2 separate regions of the Homo sapiens genome follow, and region 2 is linked to region 1. Evidence: promoter capture Hi-C in human tissues and cell types (Jung and others, 2019). All regions are on one chromosome and are shown on one strand. Each heading gives the region's core, a stretch centred on a gene start or on the middle of the fragment in contact. The rest is flanking DNA. Distances are from core to core; before and after follow the strand shown. Region 1 holds the start of NRIP3 (nuclear receptor interacting protein 3). Region 2 overlaps ZNF143 (zinc finger protein 143).

Region 1 (6,616 bases), core at 209-2,708:
GAAGGAACTGGAAGAAGGCCCATGAGGCTGAAGTACAGAGTGAATATGCAGGGTCTAGGCAGACCATGCAAGAATGTGGGTTTCTCCTAAGAGCAATAGGAAGCCTTTTGAGGTGCTCTTAGCAGGGAAGTGAGATGATCACACTTATCGTTTGAGAAGATTACTCTGGCAGCACAGTGAACAACGTATTGGAATGGAACCAAGGAGCATTCAGGAGGCCAGACAGAAGGTATCAGGTATTTGCCTGTAAAATGGGGGTGATGAGAATACTATCTTACAAGCTGTTGCCAGGATCCAATGAGATACTGCATTTTAAGTGTCTAGTCTAGTACCTGGCACATAGTAAAGGCTCAGTAAGCGTCGATATTGTTACTTTTATCATTGGTTCTTTGCAGAGTGCACATATTTCTTATCCAGGTCTGCTCCTGCGTGATGGGGTGGAGGGAGTAGTTGTGGTTTCCAGAGTGAAAACGTGATTTGTGTCAAATCACAATGTCGAGACCAGAATCCAGGATGCCTGAAGGCCCGATTAGAATGGCTTAAAAGTATGGATTATTCAGGAAGAAAAACGGGTTCCAATCGCTCCTACTAAGGACGCTGGAGGGATGGTGAACGATCCTTTAGATGGTAAGCCCTAGCACTTATTGAGAAAAACAGGTGCTTCTTTGGTCGGAGAGCAGGTGTAGGGCTCGCAGCCGCGTGCGCTCCCGCGGAGGCGGGGGACCCTCGCCACTCCCCCGCCCCACGCCCACCCGCGGGCTTCCGACTGCACCTGCTCCCCCGGCTCGGAAACGCGGGCCGGGTGCCGGGCTGCAGGCAGAGGGTGCCCGGGGGAGGAGGTCCCGAAAGCCTCCTCCACACGCCTGCACCGGCTGCCCCCTCCCCAGTCACGTGGCCCGGTGGGTGGGGACCGACCTGAAGTTGGAGAAATCCGGAGCGCTCCCAACCTCGGAGGGAGTCGCCAGTCCTCCGGGCCCGGGCGGTGGACCCTGGAGCCCCGGCTGGCGGCGTGGAGGTGCGTTTCTGAGAAGCCGAGCAGCGGCGCGGGCGGCGGGACTCGAGGCATGGCCCGGCTGTCGGTGATCCCCGGGTCGGCCACGGCGTGGACAGGTGAGCAGGTACCCGCGGCCAGCGGCAGAGATGGCCGGGGCTGCCAGGGCATCGGGCCCCAGAGCCCACGCCAGTCCAGGGGATGCGGGGCCCCCACGCAGGAGGGGGCGGTTGGGTGAAAAGGCCGCGGTGGATTCTCGGACTGCCGGGTCAGTCCCCACCAGCGCCGCCGCCTCCTCGCCGGCTTTGCCACCGGGTGAGCAGGGGACGCGGGACGCGGGACGCGGGACGCGAGGGAGCCGCGCGGGGCGTGGACTCTGTGCCGGCCCCGCCCCCCGCGCGCGCACTGGCTGCTCCCCGCGACGTCACGCTCGGCTATAAAAGGCGCGGCTCGGGGCCCTTGCGGCGCTGGAGGAGCTCGAGGCTGAGGCTGCCGGGGGGCTGTGGGCTACCGGGCCGCCGGCGCCTCAGCGATGTTTTACTCAGGGCTCCTCACTGAGGGCGGCCGCAAGGAGACCGACATGCGGGAGGCGGCGTCACTGCGACAGCAGCGCCGGATGAAGCAGGCGGTGCAGTTCATCCACAAGGACTCCGCCGACCTGCTGCCCCTGGACGGCCTCAAGAAGCTGGGCTCGTCCAAGGACATGGTGAGCCCCCGCCGCCGTTCTCGCCCCGGCCCCGGCGGCTTCGCGCCCGCCGTTTTCCGAGGCCCGGCCGTTGCGGCTTTCACTGAGTCACGGCCCGGCCCGCCGCTGCCCTTGGCTCGCGGTCGCTGCGTCGCGGATTCCTCCCCTTCCAGTACCCCTGCTGCGGTTTCGGTGGGGATTCCGTCGTAGCTTTTCTAGCTTGCGCTCCCCTCGGCTGTGCCTCCTCCCTGGATGTCTCTTCTCCAGTAGAAAGAAGAGGTCCTGCCCTGCCCTCTTGCCCTCGGGTCTTCTTTCTTTTTCCTTATTCTTAATACCGAATTTTGTTCACGGGGCTTGTGCCTCCTATGCTGTGTGGCTGTTCCTATGACCCAGACAGAGGTGATTCCTAATGGCTTTCCGTGAGGGGGAAAGAAGTGGAAAGAGGGTTTTTTGACAGTTGCCAGATCCAGAGGACTTCTGTTGAATCCATTGTCCCCCTATGCAAAACCCACTTCTCTAGTTTTGGTCCTAACTTTGACCTTCCATCCTGAGTGGGGAGAGAGAAAAGGGGCCAAATGTGAAGGTTTCCTGAACCCCCAACATCTCTTCATCATTCTCCTCTTCCAGCCCCGCCCCCAAGGAGTGGGTAGAGGGAGGAAGCCAGGCTGCTGCATCTCACCGACCAGCTAATGTGTGCATCTGGAGCTGGGGTGGGTGCAGTCTTTTTTTCTAGCACAGTTGTTCCTGGCATTAAGTAGAAGCACCTCAGGACAGGGGGCCTGGGGTCAAAGATGGTACTGTCCTCTTTCTATAGAATGGGATGGATGGCTAAGGGTTACCAATATAAAGAACTGTATTTGTCATCCCTCAGCCACTGTAGTGGTCCTGGGCCAAGTTTATGTTTAACTTTGTAGTTTTATCTGGAGTTTTCTTGTAGTTTGATTGTTTTCTTGAATTTCACAATCGCTTTATTCATTTGGGTGGTAATATGTGAAACACTAATTAAATGTCTTTTAACAAATGAAATAGGTGCTCTGCATAATTTTTCTAGTATTTTTTATTTTAAGCTTTTGAAATATTTAATTTTGGATGTGGTTGTCGGCCCTAGTTCACTGAAATTGCCATTTCTGGCCCCAGGAGGGCAGAGCTTCTGCATCCATTTCCTTTTTTTTTTTTTTTTTTTTTTAATTTAACAGCTCTAATGATACACAGGTACATTATATTATACACAGTATAATATAATATACAAAAATTTTTCTCCTCCCTGCCATTAGTTACTTCTGTGCAGAGTTTGTCTACTTCAGTTATCTTGCTCTGTTTTTTTTACAAGTTGTGTTTTTTTGTTTTGTTTTGCTTTTTGCACAACCCACAGGATAGTTTATCTGATTTATGCTAACCCAGAGTGATAAGTGATTGAAATGTGCTCCTGCAAAAGAGATAACTCTCTTTTCCCTTCTTTCACTTTAAAGCAATCTCGATTCATTTAACAAATCAGGTTCGAGAAGTATTCTTTCCTTCAGGCCAAATAATCCTATCCTAGTTCCTAGAATGCTCAGCAATCAATAAAGAAGGAAGTATTATATTAAGAGAAGAATTAAAATACAGAGTTTTTAAATGCTGGATTTGGTTGTCCCTCGTTGTCGAGGAGTTTCCTAGCCCTGAGAGCTACCTGAACTTCCTTCTGCCTAGGATTTCTTATACTACTTCATGCTGTGTAAGAATTCCATCCGCTTTTCTGACTCTAGTCTGTCTCAGTTGAGTCACAAAGGGCTGATAGCATACAGCACAGGCAGCAGGCTGCAAAGAGGAAGGAGCCTCAAGAAGCAGGATATTGCCTTGAGTATGACACATACACATGACAGTTGACTGTAAGGCTCTGAATCATGGTTCACGCTTTCTGTGCCCCACCGTCATGGAGTTGATTTCCCTCTCTCACTGTTTTCACACCTATAATGTACAAGTGATTGCACAGAACAGCCAGGTTACAGAAACCAAGGCAGACCGAGGTAGGGCTAGGAGAGCCGCAAGCGCTGGGGTGAGGCAGCATGCTTAAACTCTCTTGGAACTGTTGTTGCAGCCTTAGTACAATCTTAGAAGTGACCTTAGAAGTACATTATTATTCTTTTACTTTATAAATACATGTGGGATAGACCAGTGTTGACTCAATTTTCTCTCACTGCAAGGGAAATTTGGAGGATGTTAAAATTAATTGAATAGTTCTTACTTGGAGTAGTTTATAGTATAATCTCGATAGAAGGAGTCCAAGAAAAGGGAGAGGATAGCATCAGAGGGAGATAAGGAAGAGAGAGGAGAAATTAGTTGTTATTGACTTTTGGGTTTGTGAAGATTGTAGGTTGTTTTTCCTCATACCAGCAACCTATATTTGAATATACCGCTGGGATTTCTGAATTATCTACCTCTTACTATGCTGTTTCTGTAATGTTCACTGCTTGATACCAGCCTGCCAGCTCTTTTAGGACTGGCAGAAGGCAACCATAGGAAATCAAAGGGGGTCATGTTCTCTTGGCCCCAGGAAAGTGCCTTTGCCTATTCCTGTGTATCTGGAGTTGGCTGATACAAAGTCTTCTGTGGAAATTATATTTTTGTCTGCCCCTTTTGCTTTTATCCTTTTATCTTGTATTGTTCATTCTGTATTAGATTAAGAACTAAAACCAGAGATATGAGTGAGTAATATTATATTTGATTTTTTTTTTAAGAGACGGGTTCTCACTCTATTGCCCAGGCTGGAATGCAGCTGCAGTCACATCTTACTGCAGCCTCGACCTCGCAGGCTCAAGAGATCCTCCCACCTCAACCTCCTGAGTAGCTAGGATTACAGGTGCACACCACAACACCAATCTAACTTTTGTATTTTTTGTAGAGATGGGATTTTGCCATATTGCCCAGGCTGGTCTTGAACTCCTGGTCTCAAGCGATCTGCCCACTTTAGCCTCCCAAAGTGCTGGGATTACAAACATGAGCTACCACACCCAGCCCTGATTTTTTTTTTTAACTCAGTGAAGCTGGAGAAAAACATCTCCGTTCTTGGAAATTTGCCTATTGTAATTTATCTTGTTTTAGCTACCAGGTTCATAAAAGTTTTTCTCATTGTGCTAAGGACTTTTTAATTTTTAAAAACAGTCATGTTATGTGGTAATATGCTGTCTTTCCTAAATGATATTATACTTACCTGTAGGCATTAGGCCATATTCTTACTTGTCTGGCAATAGAGTTTTTCTTTCCTACATATGATTGCTTCTGATCATAGCTAAATGCTTTTTCAAAACTGACTAGAATTAGGAATGATGCTGGGGGAAAGATGGTTGAACACAGTAAAGCAAACTTACCATAAAATACCTGAACAGAATCTCTGTCTATTAGAGCAGGTCTGTGTGGTGTGCCCTATAGATTAGCTATCCATATCACCACAAATCATGGGCTGGAGAATTTCAGAGGCTTAGAAGAGAAGCGTGAAATACCAGTATAACACCAAGATCTGGCACAAACTGAAGATTTGCAGAGTCGTGATTGCATCCTCGTAATAGCAAACATTATTTGAATACTTGCTGTGTTCAGGACACAGTCTAGGGGCTAAGACACAAATAGGAAGACAGAAAAGTTTCTCATTATAAACAGGTTTATAGGTTGGGGGCAGGGAAGGACAGATCAGTTAATTTAATATACAAATATTTATTGAGTACCTACTACACATGTCATGCAATAATTTAAGCTTTGGAGATATAATAGTGAACCAAAACTGAGTTCCTGCCTTGACGGAACTTTCATTCTTGTGGGAGGAAGGAGGCAGAAAGTAAAATTAAGTAAATGTATATAAGGTAATAATAATAAATATTTTCTATGGAGAAAATAAATCAGGGTAAGGGGAATAGGGAAGGCAGTGACTGGGGTGGGGTGGAGTCTGGCTATTTTGTACAGGGTTGTCCGGCAAGGCCTATCTGATAAGATTACATTTGAGGAGATACTGAAGGGAATTAAGGAGCAAAGTTTCTCAGGGAAGAGTGTTCTAGGCAGAAGGAACAGCAAGTGCAAAGGACTGAGGTGTCACTGTGCTTGATATAACTGAAGAACTGTAAGAGGACCAGTGTAGCTAGATCAAAATGAGCAAGGGGGAGGGTGATAGAAGATAACATCAGAGATGTAGTAGGAGGCCATTGTGCAGGCATTTGGGTGGTTTTTTAAAATTATTATTTTTTTTATTTTCCACTCTTTTCAGCGCATACCTATGCATTTGGGTTTTAACCTGAGATTGGAAACGAGTGGAATATTTTGAGCAGAGGGGTGATATGATACATACGACTTATTTTACAAAAAGACTACTCAGGCTACTATGTGGGTTACACTGTAAAGGGGCAAGAGTAGATGAAGCAGGAAGACTGATTAGGAAGCTATTATACAGTAATTGAAGTGAGAGTTGATGGTACCTCAGAGCAGTGTGATAAGCTGTGAAGGAGAGGAGGAAGGATCAGGTTCTGGATATATGTTGAAGGCAGAGCTGACAAATGTAATTGATGCATTGGATTAAGAGTGAAAGAGTAATCAAGGAAGACCATGAGGTTTTTAACTTAGCCATTGGAAGAACAGAATTATCACTTGCTGAAGTGGATAAGACTTGCAGCGGGGAGCAGGTTGAGGATGGCAAATAAGAATGAAGAGTTTGCGGGCTGGGCGCGCTGGCTCATGCCTGTAATCCCAGCAGTTTGGGAGGCCGAGGCGGGCAGGTCACGAGGTTAGGAGATCAAGACCATCCTGGCAAACACGGTGAAACCCCATCTCTACTAAAAAATACAAAAAATTAGCCAGGCCTGGTGGCGGGCACCTGTAGTCCCAGCTACTCGGGAAACTCGGGAGGCTGAGGCAGGAGAATGGTGTGAACCCAGGAGGCGGAGCTTGCAGTGAGCCGAGATCGTGCCAATGCACTC
Region 2 (6,530 bases), core at 3,711-6,210, 480 kb before region 1:
GATGTAAATAATCTATATTCTTGGGGGAGGATAAAATAAAAACAACTTGAATTTTTAAAAATGTATTCTCTTTGAAGAAAGGAAACAATCCTAGAAGTGTGGCACCAGAGGAATTTTTAAAGAACCATGAGACACATCAGCACTGCCAGGAAGATTAAGAAACAAAAACAAGGCCAGGCACGGTGGCTCCTGCCTATAATCTTTGGGAGGCCAAGCCAGGTGGATCACTTGAGGGCAGGAGTTCAGACCAGCCTGGCCAACATGGCAAAACCTTGTCTCTACTAAAAATACAAAAACTAGCTGGGCATGGTGGTATAAGCCTGTAATTCCAGCTACTTGGGAGGCTGAGGCATGAGAATCACTTGAATCTGGGAGGCAGAGGTTGCAATGAGCCAAGATTGTGCCACTGTACTCCAGCCTGGGTGACATAGCGAGACTTCTCAAAAAAAAAAAAAAAAAAAAAGAGAGAGAGAAAAAAACAACAACAAAGCAGATTTCTAACAATAATTACTATCAGGCAGTAGATCCCTCACTTTTTATTTTTACTAATCTATACTATTTGGATTTTCTAAACATAAACATGATTACTTTTATATTTAAAAATATGTAAAATAGATACGTAGAGTAAGATTACGGGTCATTTTGGGTTTTCTTCTTTGTACTTTACCTGAATTAAAAAAAACACTAAAAATATTATCTTAAAAAATCTTTGGCGGCCGGGCGCGGTGGGTCACGCCTGTAATCCTAGCACTTTGGAAGGCCGAGGCAGGCAGATCACGAGGTCAGGAGATGGAGACCATCCTGGCTAACACAGTGAAACCCTGTCTCTACTAAAAATACAAAAAATTAGCCGGGCGTGGTGGCGGGCGCCTGTAGTCCCAGCTATGCAGGAGGCTGAAGCAGGAGAATGGCGTGAACCCGGGAGGTGGAGCTTGCAGTGAGCCAAGATCGCGCCACTGCACTCCAGCCTGGGCGACAGAGCTAGACTCCGTCTCAAAAAAAAAAAAAAATCTTTGGCCAGGTGCGGTGGCTCACGCCTGTAATCCTAGTGCTTTGGGAGGCTGAGGTGGGTGGATCACTGGAGGTCAGGAGTTCAACTGGGAGGTGGAGGTTACAGTGAGCCAAGATCAGGCCATTGCACTTCAGCTTGGGCGACAGAGTGAGACTCCATCTCAAAAAACAAAAAATAAACAAAAAAAAAAAAACACCAAACTTTTGCCCCTAAGATAACCATGGATCTAATTAATACCTTTCTTTTAGAGGTAGAAAAAAAGAGACTTAGAAAAGCAAGGTTCAGGCTGGGCACGGTGACTCACGCCTGAAATCCCAGCACTTTGGGAGGCCGAGGCAGGTGGATCACTTGAGGTCAGGAGTTTGTGATCAGCCTGGCCAACAAGGTGAAATATAAAAAACATTTTTTTAAATATTTCTTTAACAAAAATATAAAAAATTAGCCGGGCATGGTGGCACGCTCCTGTGATACCAGCTACTCAGGAGGCTGAGGCAGGTGAATCAGTTAAACCCAGGAGGCAGTGGCTGCAGTGAGCTGAGATCAGGCCACTGCACTCCAGCCTGGGCAACAAAGCAAGACCCTGTCTCAAAAAACAAAAACCACAAAAAACCAAGTACTAGGTTCTCAACCTTAAATACGGTAATTAATCATTTTAGAGAATGGTGAAGTCATGAACTTCTGATCCAGCACTAATGAAGAGAAATATAATAAGTCACAAGTGCAAGCCACATATGTGATTAAAAATTTACTGAGCTGGGTGTGGTGGCTCACGCCTGTAATCCCAGCACTTTGGGAGGCTGAGGCGGGCGGATCACGAGGTCAAGAGATTCAGACCATCCTAGCCAACATGGTGAAACCCCCTCTCTACTGAAAATACAAACGTCAGCTGTGCATGGTAGCATGTGCCTGTAGTCCCAGCTACTCGTGAGGCTGAAGCAGGAGAATCCGCTGAACCCAGGAGACGGAGGTCACAGTGAGCTGAGATCATGCCACTGCACTCCAGCCTGGTGACAGAGTGAGACTCCATCTCAAAAAAAAAAAAAAAAAAGAATTCCGGCCGGGCAAATTGGTTCACACCTATAATCCCAGGACTTTGGAATGTCAAGGCAGGAGGATAACTTGAACCAACACTGCACCATTGCACTCCAGCCTAAGCGACAGAGCAAGACTCAGTCTCAAAAAATAAATAAATAAATAAAATAGGGGTCAGGCATGGTGGCTCACACCTGTGGTCCCAGCACTTTGGGAGGCCAAGTGGGCGGATCACAATGTCAGGAGTTCGAGACCAGCCTGGCCAGCATGGTAAAACCCTGTCTCTACTAAAAATACAAAAAATTAGACAGGCACGGTGGCATGTGCCTGCAGTCTCAGCTACTCGGGAGGCTGAGCAGGAGAACTGCTTGAACTGAGCAGGTGGAGGTTGTAGTGAGCTGAGATCGCGCCACTGCACTCCAGTCTGGGTGACAGAGCGAGATGCCGTCTCCAAAAAAAAAAAAAAAAAAAAAAAAAAGGCATGTTGGCTCACACCTGTAATCCCAGCATTTTCAGAGGCTGAGGTGGGTTGATCACTGGAGGTCAGGAGTTCGAGACCAACCTGGTCAACATGACGAAACCTCATCTCTACTAAAAATACAAAAATTAGCTGGGTGTGGTGGTGCATGCCTGTAATCCCAGCTATTCGGGAGGCTGAGGCAAGAGAATCATTTGAACCCAGCAGGTGGAGGTTGCAGTCAGCCAAAATCACATCACTGCACTCCACCCTGGGCAAGAGAGTAAGACTCCATCTCAAAATACATAAATAAATATAATAATAAAATAAAACAAAAAATCTCTAGTAACCAATTGAAAAAAATTAAAAGAAACAGGTGAAATTAATAGTAATTATTTTGTTTAACACAATATGTCCAAAATATCATTTCAACGTTATCAATATAAGAAATTATTGATATTTTACATTATTTTTATCGTACTATGTCTTCAAAATCCACTTACAGCACATCTCAATTTGGACTAGTCATATTTCAAGTGCTTAACAGCCACATATGGCTAGTGGCAACCGTATTGGACATTGCAGATCTAGTCTGTAAGGAAGAGGTACAAAAGGCAAAGGAGAAAAAAGCTACAGTAAAAAAAAAAAAAAAAGAATCCCATTCAGTAGTCTTCTATTTGTCTACTGGTACCAATACCAAATGGTAATATGTCTACAGATAAAGAGTAATGGGATTTTTTGGCCGGGTGCGCTGGCTCACGCCTATAATCCCAGCACTATGGGAGGCCGAGGTGGGCGGATCATGAGGTCAGGAGATCGAGACCATCCTGGCTAACACAGTGAAACCCCATCTGTACTAAAAATACAAAAAATTAGCCAGGCATGGTGGCGGGCACCTGTAGTCCCAGCTACTCCAGACGCTGAGGCAGGAGAATGGCGTGAACCCGGGAGACGGAGCTTACAGTGAGCCGAGATCGAGCCACTGCACTCCAGCCTGGGCGACAGAGCGAGACACCGTCTTAAAAAAAAAAAAGAGTTGGGGCCGGGTACAGTAGCTCACGCCTGTAATCCCAGCACTTTGGGAAGCCAAGGCAGGCAGATCATGAGGTCAGGAGATCGAGACCATCCTGGCTAACATGGTGAAACCCTGCCTCTACTAAAAATACAAAAAATTAGCCGGGCGTGGTGGCGGGCGCCTGTAGTCCCAGCTACTCGGGAGGCTGAGGCAGGAGAATGGCGTGAACCCGGGAGGCAGAGCTTGCAGTGAGCCAAGATCGAGCCACTGCACTCCAGCCTGGGCGACAGAGTGAGACTCCACCTCAAAAAAAAAAAAAAGAGTAATGGGTTTTTTTAATGACATTTTGCCTCAGCAGTTCTGAATTCCTAGTTACGTTTTGAGTTCTGAAATTTTTTTTTTTTTTTTTGAGACAGTCTCACTCTGTTGCCCAGGCTGGGGTGCAGTGGCACAATCTTGGCTCATTGCAACCCCCACCTCCCAGGTTCAAGCGATTCTCCTGCCTCAGCTTCCCAAGTAGCTGGGATTATAGGCGCACACCACCACACCCAACTAATTCTTGTATTTTTAGTAGAGATGGGGTTTTGCCATGTTGGCCAGGTTGGTCTCAGACTCCTGACCTCAGGTGATCCACCTGCCTCGGCCTCCCAAAGTGCTAGGATTACAGGCGTGAGTCACTGGACCCAGCCTACAACTGCTTTTCTTTAAAATATTCTATTATTTTAAAATGTACTTGTCAGTTACCAATAAGACAGAGAACTTATTGGGCCACTCCAACACTCCAAGCCACTGACCTATAACTCCCGCACATATTTACCCTGTGTTTGCATCTTAGTAGAGGTTGACTTAGGTGGATTTGACATAGAACTGTATAAAAAATACTGAAGTCTCATTTTTTGGGAGGTGGGGGAGAACAGGGTCTTGCTCTGTTGCTTAGGCTGGAGTGCAGTGGCACAATCAGCTCACTATAACTTCAAACCACGGGCTCAAGGGATCCTCCTGCCCTCGCCTCCCAAACAGCTGTGACTACAAATGTGTGCCACCATGCCTTGCTAATTTTGTAATTTTTTGTAGAGATGGAGTCTCACTTTGTTGCCCGGGCTGGTCTCAAACTTCTGGGTTCAAGCAATCTTCCCACCTCAGCCTCTCAAAGTATTGTGATTACAGGTGTGAGCCACCACACCTGCCTTAAAGTCTCATTTCATTCACAAAATATGAATATGAATTGAGACCTGAAAATTTTGCTACGAATCACACAGCATCAAAGCTGATGGGCTTAGTGAACTGAAAACTGTGTTTATTCTATTGCCACTTTGTAGCATCACTTCAGCTGGTAAACAGAAATATTGGCTATTCAGCAACGCGTAGAAGCATAATATTTCTTTTTCTTTTTTCTTTTTTTTTTTTTTGAGACAGTTTCGTTCTTGTTGCCCAGGCTGGAGTGCAACAGCGCGATCTTGGCTCACTGCAACCTCTGCCTCCTGGGTTCAAGCGATTCTCCTGCCTCAGCCTCCTGAGTAGCTAGGATTATAGGCACTAGCCACCACACCTGGCTAATTTTTTGTATTTTTAGTAGAGGCAGGGTTTCACCATGTTGGCCAAGTTGGTCTCAAACTCCTGACCTCAAGTCATCCATCCGCCTCAGCCTCCCAAAGTGCTGGGATTACAGGCATGAGCCACCACGCCCGGCCAGAACCATATTTCTACAAGTGATTTCAGTGATTCCTGTTATTTTATCACTTACTATTAATATAAATGTAAAATCTTCTTGATAACCCCTAACAGTATCACTCAATGTCACTAAGTGGTCATGTTAATGCTCAAGGTTATAAATGTGACCCTGAGTAGTAACTTTAGGAGTTAAATATAATAAAACTCTGAAGAATGAAAAAAAAACTACTATAAAGGAACAGTCAACAAAATATTAGAGAAAATTGCTGAGAAAATAAAGAGCAGCATTAAAGCAGGAATGTACTACAATGATTATACAAGCTCCAAGCATACCCTCCACACGAACATCCCAACACAAAAACAATTCTTGAATAACATAAGTTTTGAATTTTTGATTGTAGGAGATATGCAAGAATGCACCTGGGACTACTTTGTACTTACTACAAAACTTTTAGAAGCACTGGTGCTCTGGGCTGTTACTTAGGTAAGGGGCAGCCAATGACTGGACCCAGGGTGAACATTTGAACCACGGGAAGCCAGCCCACAGGCCACCTGCAGACCAGGAAGCAGTCTGGTAGAAAAAGTATAAACAGCTTTGTCCAAGATTAACTAGGCTGGACTCTCCCTTCAGAAGTTGAAAAGGAAAATATGGAGGGAATCAGCTGGAAGAAGAAGAAATTTAAAAATACAAAAAGCAAAGCAGTGAGGATTATTTAGAAAGAGTCATGATGAAGTCCCAGAAAAAGTATCCACAAATTGCCATGCCATGGGTGGGGGCAGTCAGGAAGTCACCTGGTCTCCACAACTGCCTTGTCCAGAAAACTGCCTTGGAATCCAGCACACAAGCTTCACCTGGATTTCTGTGATACTTCCATTTCTTTAGCATCATTTTGCATCCACCAATGAACACTGGGACCTCAGGCAGTTTGAGAAAGCTGCTGCCCAATACATACATTGTTTTTCTGAACTGGTGAGATTTTCCTAGAGAGGTAGTGAGTTACCTATTCTTGCTTTCATCCACAGAAGGGCACAGAAATGCTAAGCTAGATTTTTATATTAAAAAGTAGCTTTACATACCTGCATTTTTTTCTCTTGCTCATTTTCTCCAATCATTCCAGTACCTGCTACACTTTCACTTCCATCAATGGACACCTATAGGAATAAAATAAAGCTTTAAAATGTTTTACATTTTGATAATGGTTTAGGCTGGTTAAGTACATGGTTCAGGGAGAAGCTTGCAAAAAAAAAGAAAAAGAAAAAAAAGTACATGGGGCTTCATTATCATTTATTTTTGTGTATATTTGAAAATTTCCATAATAGGCTGGGCATGGTGGCTCATGCCA

The links. Contacts are between HindIII fragments. The study calls those that stand out against the background at their distance.
Region 2: a contact is called between a fragment that was not itself captured here and the fragment with the promoter of NRIP3 in region 1, in 1 of the 25 tissues and cell types used here (mesenchymal stem cells).

Annotation. Positions count from the first base shown.
Region 1 is chr11:8,998,843-9,005,458 of GRCh38, reverse strand. It overlaps NRIP3 (nuclear receptor interacting protein 3), which reads left to right and starts at 1,458. Exons shown (of 7, transcript NM_020645.3): 1 at 1,458-1,697. The coding sequence starts at 1,524. It overlaps NRIP3-DT (NRIP3 divergent transcript), which reads right to left and starts at 1,371. Exons shown (of 3, transcript NR_183663.1): 1 at 916-1,371. RefSeq lists an enhancer at 1,362-2,281. The HindIII fragment of the contact is 10,801 bases long and covers 1-4,075 here.
Region 2 is chr11:9,479,281-9,485,810 of GRCh38, reverse strand. It overlaps ZNF143 (zinc finger protein 143), which reads right to left. Exons shown (of 16, transcript NM_003442.6): 7 at 6,265-6,339. Among named protein-coding and RNA genes, the nearest start is that of ZNF143, 22 kb to the right of the region's middle. The HindIII fragment of the contact is 7,913 bases long and covers 1,004-6,530 here.